2 separate regions of the Homo sapiens genome follow, and region 1 is linked to region 2. Evidence: promoter capture Hi-C in 16 types of primary human blood cells and fetal thymus (Javierre and others, 2016). All regions are on one chromosome and are shown on one strand. Each heading gives the region's core, a stretch centred on a gene start or on the middle of the fragment in contact. The rest is flanking DNA. Distances are from core to core; before and after follow the strand shown.

The links. The method cuts DNA at HindIII sites, captures the fragments that hold promoters and counts their contacts. A CHiCAGO score of 5 or more calls a contact.
Region 1: a fragment that was not itself captured here is called in contact with the fragment with the promoter of XPOT in region 2 in 1 of 17 cell types (total CD4 T cells); the score reaches 5.7 in total CD4 T cells.

Annotation. Positions count from the first base shown.
Region 1 is chr12:69,588,450-69,592,698 of GRCh38, forward strand. CCT2 (chaperonin containing TCP1 subunit 2) reads left to right here. Exons shown (of 16, transcript NM_006431.3): 7 at 1,036-1,238; 8 at 3,610-3,710. Among named protein-coding and RNA genes, the nearest start is that of CCT2, 5.1 kb to the left of the region's middle. The HindIII fragment of the contact is 2,196 bases long and covers 1,264-3,459 here.
Region 2 is chr12:64,402,890-64,407,337 of GRCh38, forward strand. It overlaps XPOT (exportin for tRNA), which reads left to right and starts at 1,503. Exons shown (of 25, transcript NM_007235.6): 1 at 1,503-1,915. RefSeq lists enhancers at 1,078-1,127, 2,225-3,101 and silencers at 1,518-1,677, 2,008-2,117. The HindIII fragment of the contact is 10,073 bases long and covers 1-3,179 here.

The DNA of each region.
Region 1 (4,249 bases), core at 1,112-3,611, 5.2 Mb after region 2:
TTTTGTATATATCATCAAAATATACAAATAAAGCAAATAGTATAATACTGTATAGAGAATTTGTTAGCCTCTTTTTAACCTAGTTAAATATTAAGCACATTTTTGGATGTCAATTTTCTGTGCAGTATTTTAATAGAGTTACACATTTGAATATTTGGCTAGAATGACTGTATTAACCTATCTGTAGGGGGAGATTTGTGTATTTGATGATTTTTAGCATTATAAAATAACTTTGTGACGTTGCGACATAGCCCAAAGGTTTCTAGAAGTGTAATTGTTGGGTCCAAAGGTAAGTGTGTGTGTTTTAAGGCACCCCCAAACCTGGGCTGCACAGCAGGTGAGCAGCAGGTGGAAAAATTGTCTTCCCATGAAACCAGTCCCTGGTGCCAAAAAGGTCCGGGACCACTGTTTTAAGGCACTTCTATTTATTTGCCCATTCACAACTGTATAATAATACTTGTTTTTCACGTCCTTTTATTTATTTATTTATTTTGAGACGGAGTCTCGCTCTTAGAGTTGCCCAGAATGGAGTGCAGTGGCACGACTTCGGCTGACTGCAACCTCTGCCTCCCGGGTTCAAGCGATTCTCTTGCCTCAGCCTCCCAAGTAGCAGGGACTACAGGCATGTGCCATCATAGCCAGCTAATTTTGTATTTTTAGTGTAGATGGGGTTTCACCATGTTGCTCAGGCTGGTCTTGAACTGACCTCAAGTGATCCATCCTCCTCAGTCTCCCAAAGTGCTAGGATTACAGGCGTGAGCCACTGTGCCCGGCCATTTCTCACATTCTTGCCAACATTAGACTTTTGCATGCTTGTGTGGCCCCCACCCCTCTTTTTTTTTTGGCATTTTGCCAGTTTGGTGGGGAAAATAACATCTTTAATTTGTGTTTCTTGATTACTGCTGAGGTTTAATTCTTTTCATATAGCTTACAGACTTGATCAGTTAGGGTAAAATTATCTATTGACATGAATATCTAGATAAATTTTGAAAAGTAAAGTAGGGTTAATATGTATATTTGGTTGGTTTTATTTAGTTCCGATGAAGTTAAATTCCGTCAAGATTTAATGAATATTGCGGGCACAACATTATCCTCAAAACTTCTTACTCATCACAAAGACCACTTTACAAAGTTAGCTGTAGAAGCAGTTCTCAGACTGAAAGGCTCTGGCAACCTGGAGGCAATTCATATTATCAAGAAGCTAGGAGGAAGTTTGGCAGATTCCTATTTAGATGAAGGTATGTATGAATGTCAGATACAAGAAGCTTTGATTAGATGCTGAGGGCTGAATACTGAGTGAATTCTGTTTTGAGACCAGTGACCCTTTACAAAGCCAGTGAACTTGAATTTAAGGACATATCATATGTGCAACCATTTTTGTCATTTTATTGACAGTGTACTCCTCTTCCCGCGCTATTCCAGCATTGTTGATGATCTCTAGAGTTTACTTAACTACCATGAAGTTATTTGCAGTCTCTGATAAAGAGGAAATGTTTTCTTTTACTAGAAATCATCTATTCTCAAATGGTACTTTTACCAGGATTATATGTATTCTCCAGGAAGGGTCTGGGTCAGTCAAATCATTGTGTTAGCTGGTTGTTGAGGATGTACAGTTGACCATTGAACAACATGGGTTTGAATTATGTAGGTTCACAATGCAGGTTTTTTCAATAAATATAGTCAGCCCTTTGTGTCCGTGGTTTGCACATGTGCAACCGAACGTGGATGGAAAATGCAGTATTTGCAGGATTTGAAACCCATGTATATAGTGGGCCAGCTTTTCAAATCTGCTGGTTCCAGTCAGCCTGGAACTTAAGTATGTGGGGATTTTGGTGTATGTGGGCGTCTTGGAACCAGTCCCCTTCGTATACTGGGGGATGACTAGTTTTTTTTAGAAAAGAATTAAAAAAAATTTCTTTAACAAATAATTATGTATGTTTATAGGGCAAGAGGATCTAGTTCTTAAAGAGTGATAAATGAGACATAATAAGTACTGCTTTCTTAGTAGTACATTTTTGTTTAGAGTGAAGTTTTCCAGATCATCTTCACATTATATTTACTTCACAAAATGGCCTGTCAAAAAGTATAGGCATTCTTATATAGAGAAGGAAAAAAAAAGAATTAGATGGTGCTTTACAACTTCTGTTTTTACCAGTGGTTTGGAGTCCTGGTTTTGTTCTGTGTCATAGGTCTTGATTTATTTTAAGAGAGAGTCATAATTCTGAAAATACTCTTGATTAAGTTTATATACAAGAGCTGTGTAGCATTTCTTTTTTTTTTTTTTTGAGACGGAGTCTGGCTGTGTCACCCAGGCTGGAGTGCAGCAGTATGATCTCGCCTCACTGCAACCACTGCCTCCTGAGTTAAGGCGATTCTCCTGCCTCAGCCTCCTGAGTAGGTGGGATTACAGGCGTGTGCCACCATGCCTGGCTAACTTTTTTGTATTTTTAGTAGAGACGGGGTATCGCCATGTTGACCAGGCTGGTCTCGAACTCCTGACCTAAGGGGATCCACCTGCCTCAGCCTCCCAAAGTACTGGGATTACAGGCGTGAGCCACCATGCCTGGCCGCTGCGTAGCATTTCTGATAGGGGCTGGTGGTAGGGAAGGAGCATTAAAACAAGAATATTAGTAGCACAAGCAGCACCATTCTTGAATGTCTGCTCTGTACTAGGAATTGTAATAGGAACTTTAGTCATTTAGTCATCATGACCTGGTGAGTGAGGATTAGGTTCACTTGAATAGAGTAGAAAACCCAAGATAATGGTGGCTTCATAATGGAAAAGTTTCTAATGTAACCAAAAAAAGGCCTAGAAAGGTAGGTGGTACTGGGTTTGTATGATGGTTCCAAAGCAGCAGGACTAGGCTGGTAACTAGCACCTCTGCTACTGGTTACATTCCTGTTTTACAAATTAGCATTTCTGGTTGGATAATTTGTCGAAGGTTATATAGCCAGCAGCAGGGGCATGATCAGGGTCAGATTTATCTGACTCCACGGTGTCCATGGTTTTTCCATTTTTACCACCAGCCTCAATACCTGAATCTTCAATTTTTCTCTTGTGGTGGTGATTTTAAGCTAATAAAAATATAGGACTTAACCTATTGTCTTTATATTGCAACCCATACAGATGTGGGTGTAGCGTATATCTGAAACAAAAGTTTCAAAATACTGTTTAATTTTATTGTCTGTACTGTGCTCTTATATTTTCTGTTTCATATTTTTTAAGTAACCCATTAAATTGATTTTGTAATAACTCTTCTAGTGGGATGCTTTATACCAGAAGTGTCCAAGGAAGAGAATACAGTCATGGGTTCCTAGTTTCTGTTTCTGGTTGGGTCGGTAAAGCCCCTTCCTCCTCCCTCTTTTCTGCTTATCACTAGAGACAGAAACTAAAATCCATGGCTTTCAGGCGCTAAAAGCCTAAAAGCAAAACAACAACAGAATAAGGCAGGTTGGACAAGCTTGCTTTTATGCCTTCTAAGAGCTTGGTAAATTGGACTTAAATAGCTTCTTTGAAACAGTGATATGATAAAGCAGACAGCTTTTTATAAGATTTACTAAGGCTGCTTTGAAGTATTAAATATGATACTGTTCTTATATTTATTGTAGGCTTCCTGTTGGATAAAAAAATTGGAGTAAATCAACCAAAACGAATTGAAAATGCTAAAATTCTTATTGCAAATACTGGTATGGATACAGACAAAATAAAGGTATGTAACTCTACTTTTTAAAAATTAAAATTACTGCCCAGGCAGAGTGGCTCATGCCTGTAATCCTAGCAATTTGGGAGGCCAAGGTGGTGGATCATCTGAGATCAGAAGTTTGAGACCAGCCTGACCAACATGGAGAAACCCTGTCTCTACTAAAAAAAAAAAAATACAAAATTAGCTGGGCATGGTGGCGCATGCCTGTAATCCCAGCTATTCGGGAGGCTGAGGCAGGAGAATCACTTGAACCCAGGAGGCGGAGGTTGCACTGAGCCGAGATTGTGCTACTGCACTCGAGCCTGGGCAACAAGAGTGAAACTCCGTCTCAAAAGTCTCAAAAAAAAAAAAATTGCTGGATTCTATAAACTCAGGAATCAATTGCACTAAAAAGCTTGGAATAGGTATGAATCTATTGTGTATATACACATATATATACGTTGGTAAAAATGTTGAAATATGCTATGGGACTCTTTAAAAAGAGTAATGAGGCCTGGCGTGGTGGTTCACGCCTGTAATCCCAGTACTTTGGGAGGCCAGGCGGG
Region 2 (4,448 bases), core at 253-2,752:
TACAAAAACAAACAAAAATAGCCAGGTATGATGGTATGCACCCGTAGTCCCAGCTCCTTGGGCGGCTGAGGCAGGAGGATTGCTTGAGCCCAGGAGGTCAAGGCTGCAGTGAGCTATGACCACTCTACTCCAGACTGGGTAACAGAGCGAGACCCTTTCTCTAAAAACAAGAAAAAATTAAAACCCAGTTCTCCTTTAGCGACATCTTGTAGCCACTAGCCTGACATTTTAAACACATAAATTAGAAACATGATGCAAGAGTGATTCAAGGTATTTTATATAGGAAATGCCTGGTGTAGTGTCTTGGACAGCTAAATAAAGGTAGCTGTTAAAACATTAGTTTTATTCTATGCTCTTACCATTCCTCCCTCTCCAAGTTTTGTTTGTAGTCTGTGGCAGCAACCTAGTCTGTATTTAGTACACATTGAATAATCAACAATGAAATGTAAATATTGAGCACATTGTGTGTCAAACACATGTATTAACTCAAACCTCACAGAAACCCTTTGAGGTCGGTACTATTAACAATCCCCATTTTACATACGAGTAAACTGAAGCATGGATAGACTAAAGTAAAGTGCCTGAGGTCAACTAGTGAGGAGGCGGAGTGGCAGTCAAGTCGAGGCAGCCTAAGCCTACACTGCCTCTATGTTGCATTAATAAATTAATAAATCTGTGACCAAATAAATGAAGTGACATTTAGTAGCATCGAAAGATCCCGTGAGTAGGACTTCCTAAGAATGCTCTCCTTCTTTTCATGGACAAAATTTTAGTCTGTTTAAAATAAATTTTGGACCGGACACCGTGGCTCACGCCTGTAATCCCAGTACTTTGGGAGGCCGAGGCAGGTGATCACTTGAGGTCAGGAGTTCGAGATCAGCCTGTCCAACATGGTGCAACCCTGTCTCTACGAAAAATACAAAAATTAGCTGGGTATGGTGGCGCGCGCCTGTCATCCCAGCTACTCAGGAGGCTGATGCAGGAGAACTGCTTGAACCCCGGAGGCGGAGGTTGCAGTGAGCCAAGATCTCGCCATTGCACCCCATCCTGGGCGACAGAGCGAGACTCCGTCTCAAAGAATAAATAAATAAATTAATTAATTAATTTTGAAAACCTGTCAGCACTCATCAGAGCTTTACACTGCTGTACTCGGGACACTTGGGGCCGTAGACAAGCAATTAAATTGACTCACACGTGGTTAGAACCACGTCATCCTGATTCGTGAATCCGTACTCTCAACTACTAGAAGCCCTTTGTGGAATGCTCGGGGCGAACCTGACGCTTGAGCTCTGACACCACGCAGACACAGCCGGGGATTTAGGAGCTGGGTAGGGACTCCTGGGCCGGATGCCTCATCCCGGCATGCACCTCAAGCCCCGGTGACCACGCCTTCCGGCGAGCGCCAGGGAGCGCGTGTGCGCCTCGCCGCCCGGAAGCGCCGGCCGCTCCCTGCATGCTGGGAGTTGTAGGCCTCCGGCGTCAGCCCGCGGGCTGCCGCCCGCACTCTCCAAGAGACTGCTGGCGCCGGCGCCCGCCCGCGCGGCACCGACGCGGGGAGCGCGCTTCGCGCTGACTCAGCGGCGGCGGCGGCTGCGGCGGCGGCGGCGGCGTTAGCCGGCCCTCGCGCTCTTTCCCTTCCTGGGGCGCCGACCCCGCCCGCTTGCTTGCTTGCTTGCTTGCCTGCCTGCCTGCCTGCCCGGCGCCACGCAAGAGAAGGTGCCAGGGGACGCAGAGCGACTAGAGGCGCGCGGTCCCGGCCAGCACCGTCTCTGGCGTTGTAGCTGCGGCCGTGGCGGAGGACTACGGCGACAAGGACGAGGGCCGCTCTCCCAGCTCTCTGCGTGCCGCGCCGCTCCGCTCCGCTGGCTGACCATCTGGAGTGCAGGCTGGGAGGCGGGATGGAGTGATAGGGAAGGTGACTCGGGGCTCGGGGGCAGCGGGACCGGGACCAGGTTTGGTCCGCGTGAGGCTTCGAGGAAGTTGGCCGGGGCGGACCGGCCCGGGGGAGTCCCGACGCCAGGGAGGGTGCAGGCTTGGGACCCTCTATGGCGGTGCACCCCCTGGCTGGGCGGACCGGGTGGGGGTGGGTACGAGCCGGGGCCGCCGCCGAGGAGCGCGTCCCGAGTGCGTGGCCGGCGGTTGCTTGGTGTTTCATCACCCGAATTGCCACGAGGCTTCCTTTAGGGGAGGGATCGGGGGAGGGATGGGAGCAAGGCTAGCAGAGGAGGGTCGGCATCGCCTGTGGTTCCGAAGCCCGTTAGTCATCGTTGTAGCGTTATCAACTGTGGAGACCTCAAACTTGATTCTTCCCCCACCCCTGGACAAAAAGGAAAAGTGTTATTTCTGTGCAGTAATTGGCCAGCACGGACGCTCCATTTCTTCTCAAACCTTCCTCACCATCCTGCAGGACTAGAGAAGCATGAGGTTTCCCTGTAACCAGAAAAACGAGTACTTTTTGAAAGTGCTAATTAGTTGTGGCGGGCGGGGGTTGGGGGAGAGTTACGTTTTATTAAACCGACTTGTCAGCGTGGTGTTAAAAGGCTGGAAAGATTCAGTCGTAGTATTTGAAACAGTCTTCAGTAGGTGTAGAGGAATTTTTCCAAATTGTTTGATTCTTAATGGCTATCCAGGAAAAGTTAAGGCTTAATATTTTAAGTATGTTGCTTGCCTTCCCCCAAGAACCTTTGCAAGATGCATAATTGTTTACCGTATTGAAACATTTTTTGGGGTTTTGTTGTTGTTGTTTTGAGACGGAGTCTCGCTCGGTCGCCCAGGCTGCAGTGCAGTGGTGCCATCTCGGCTCACTGCAACCTCTGCCTCCCAGGTTCAAGTGATTCTGCAGCCTCAGCCTCCCGAGTAGCTCTATTACAGGTGCGCCCCGCCACACCTGGCTACTTTTTGTATTTTTCGTAGAGATGGAGTTTCACCGTGTTAGCCAGGATGGTCTCGATCTCTTGACCTCGCGATCCGCCCGCCTCAGCCTCCCAAAGTGCTGGGATTACAGGCGTGAGCCACCGCGCCCGGCCTTCCACTGCATATTGATCGTCCAAATGCCTTCTATGTGGGGGATTCTTTCTGTAGTGACAACTGTTAACTAGTTTGTTTCCTTGGGTTTATTGGCTATGTTTTCCTTAGGGCCACTTCATTTTTCTCCCGATAGCTTCAGAGTGACTTGACCAAGCTTAAGCACTTTTTCTTTTTTTTGACACAGTGTCTCACTCTGTCGCCCAGGCGGGAGTGCAATGACACGATCTCCGCTCACTGCAACCTCCCCCTCCCGGGTTCATGCGAGTCTTCTGCCTCAGCCTCCTGGGTAGCTGGGATTACAGGCGCAGGCCACCATGCCCAGCTAATTTTTGTATTTTTAGTAGAGACGGCGTTTCACCGTGTTGGTCAGGCTGGTCTCGAACTCCTGACCTCGTGATCCGCCCACCTCGGCCTCCCAAAATGCTGGGATTACAGGCGTGAGCCACCGTGCCCAGCCAGCAATTTTTTTTAGATGGAGTTTCGCTCTCGTTGACCAGGCTGGAGTGCGGTGGCGCCATCTCAGCTCACTGCAACCTCCGCCTCCCGGGTTCAAGCGATTCTCCTGCCTCAGCCTCCCGAATAGCTGGGATTGCAGGCATGTGCCACCACACCCGGCTAATTTTTGTATTTTTAGTAGAGACGGGGTTTCTCCATGTTGGTCAGGCTGGTCTCGAACTCCCGACCTCAGTTGATCTGCGCCCCCCTCCCCTCGGCCTTCCTTAGTGCTGGGATTATAGGCGTGAGCCACCCTGCCTGGCCAGCATTTTTTTAAAAAGCCATAGCAAATTCAAGGAAGCTTTTATTGGACTTCTCAATCAGGGATTCTTAGAAACTCCGAAATCGTTTTTTCTCTCTGTGGGCATTTTTCAGGGGAATGGACATCAGATTTTCTTAACATTTAGGGGGCGAAGGGAACCAGTGCCTTTCTTTGTGTTTTTCTGTCTTTTAAAAATGCTGATCTGGTATAAGAATGCCCCAAGTCGTTTCCATTCCACATGTTCCTACCTCTGACTATAAACAACGTATTGAGGGCTCACTATGTGCCAGCCATGCTCTGCATACCTTATCTCTTTGAAGCCTTTACAACTTTATGAGGCATATGGTCTTTTTCCCATGTCATAGAAAGGGTTCTCTCAGGTTTTGTAAGTTGTCCAAGTGGCCCCAATTAAAAAATGACAAGATGGGGATACAAACCCAGGTCTTTGAAATCCAAAACCTATGCTCTACTATGTCCTAGGGACATAGTGATGGATAGTCAAGACAGTCCTTGCCCTTTAAGATTGTGAGAAATGGCCGGGTGGCTCACACCTGTAATCCCAGCACTTTGGGAGGCCGAGTCTGGCAGATCACCTGAGATTAGGGGTTCGAGACCAGCCTGGGCAACATGGTGAAACCCCATCTCTACTAAAAAATACAAAAAT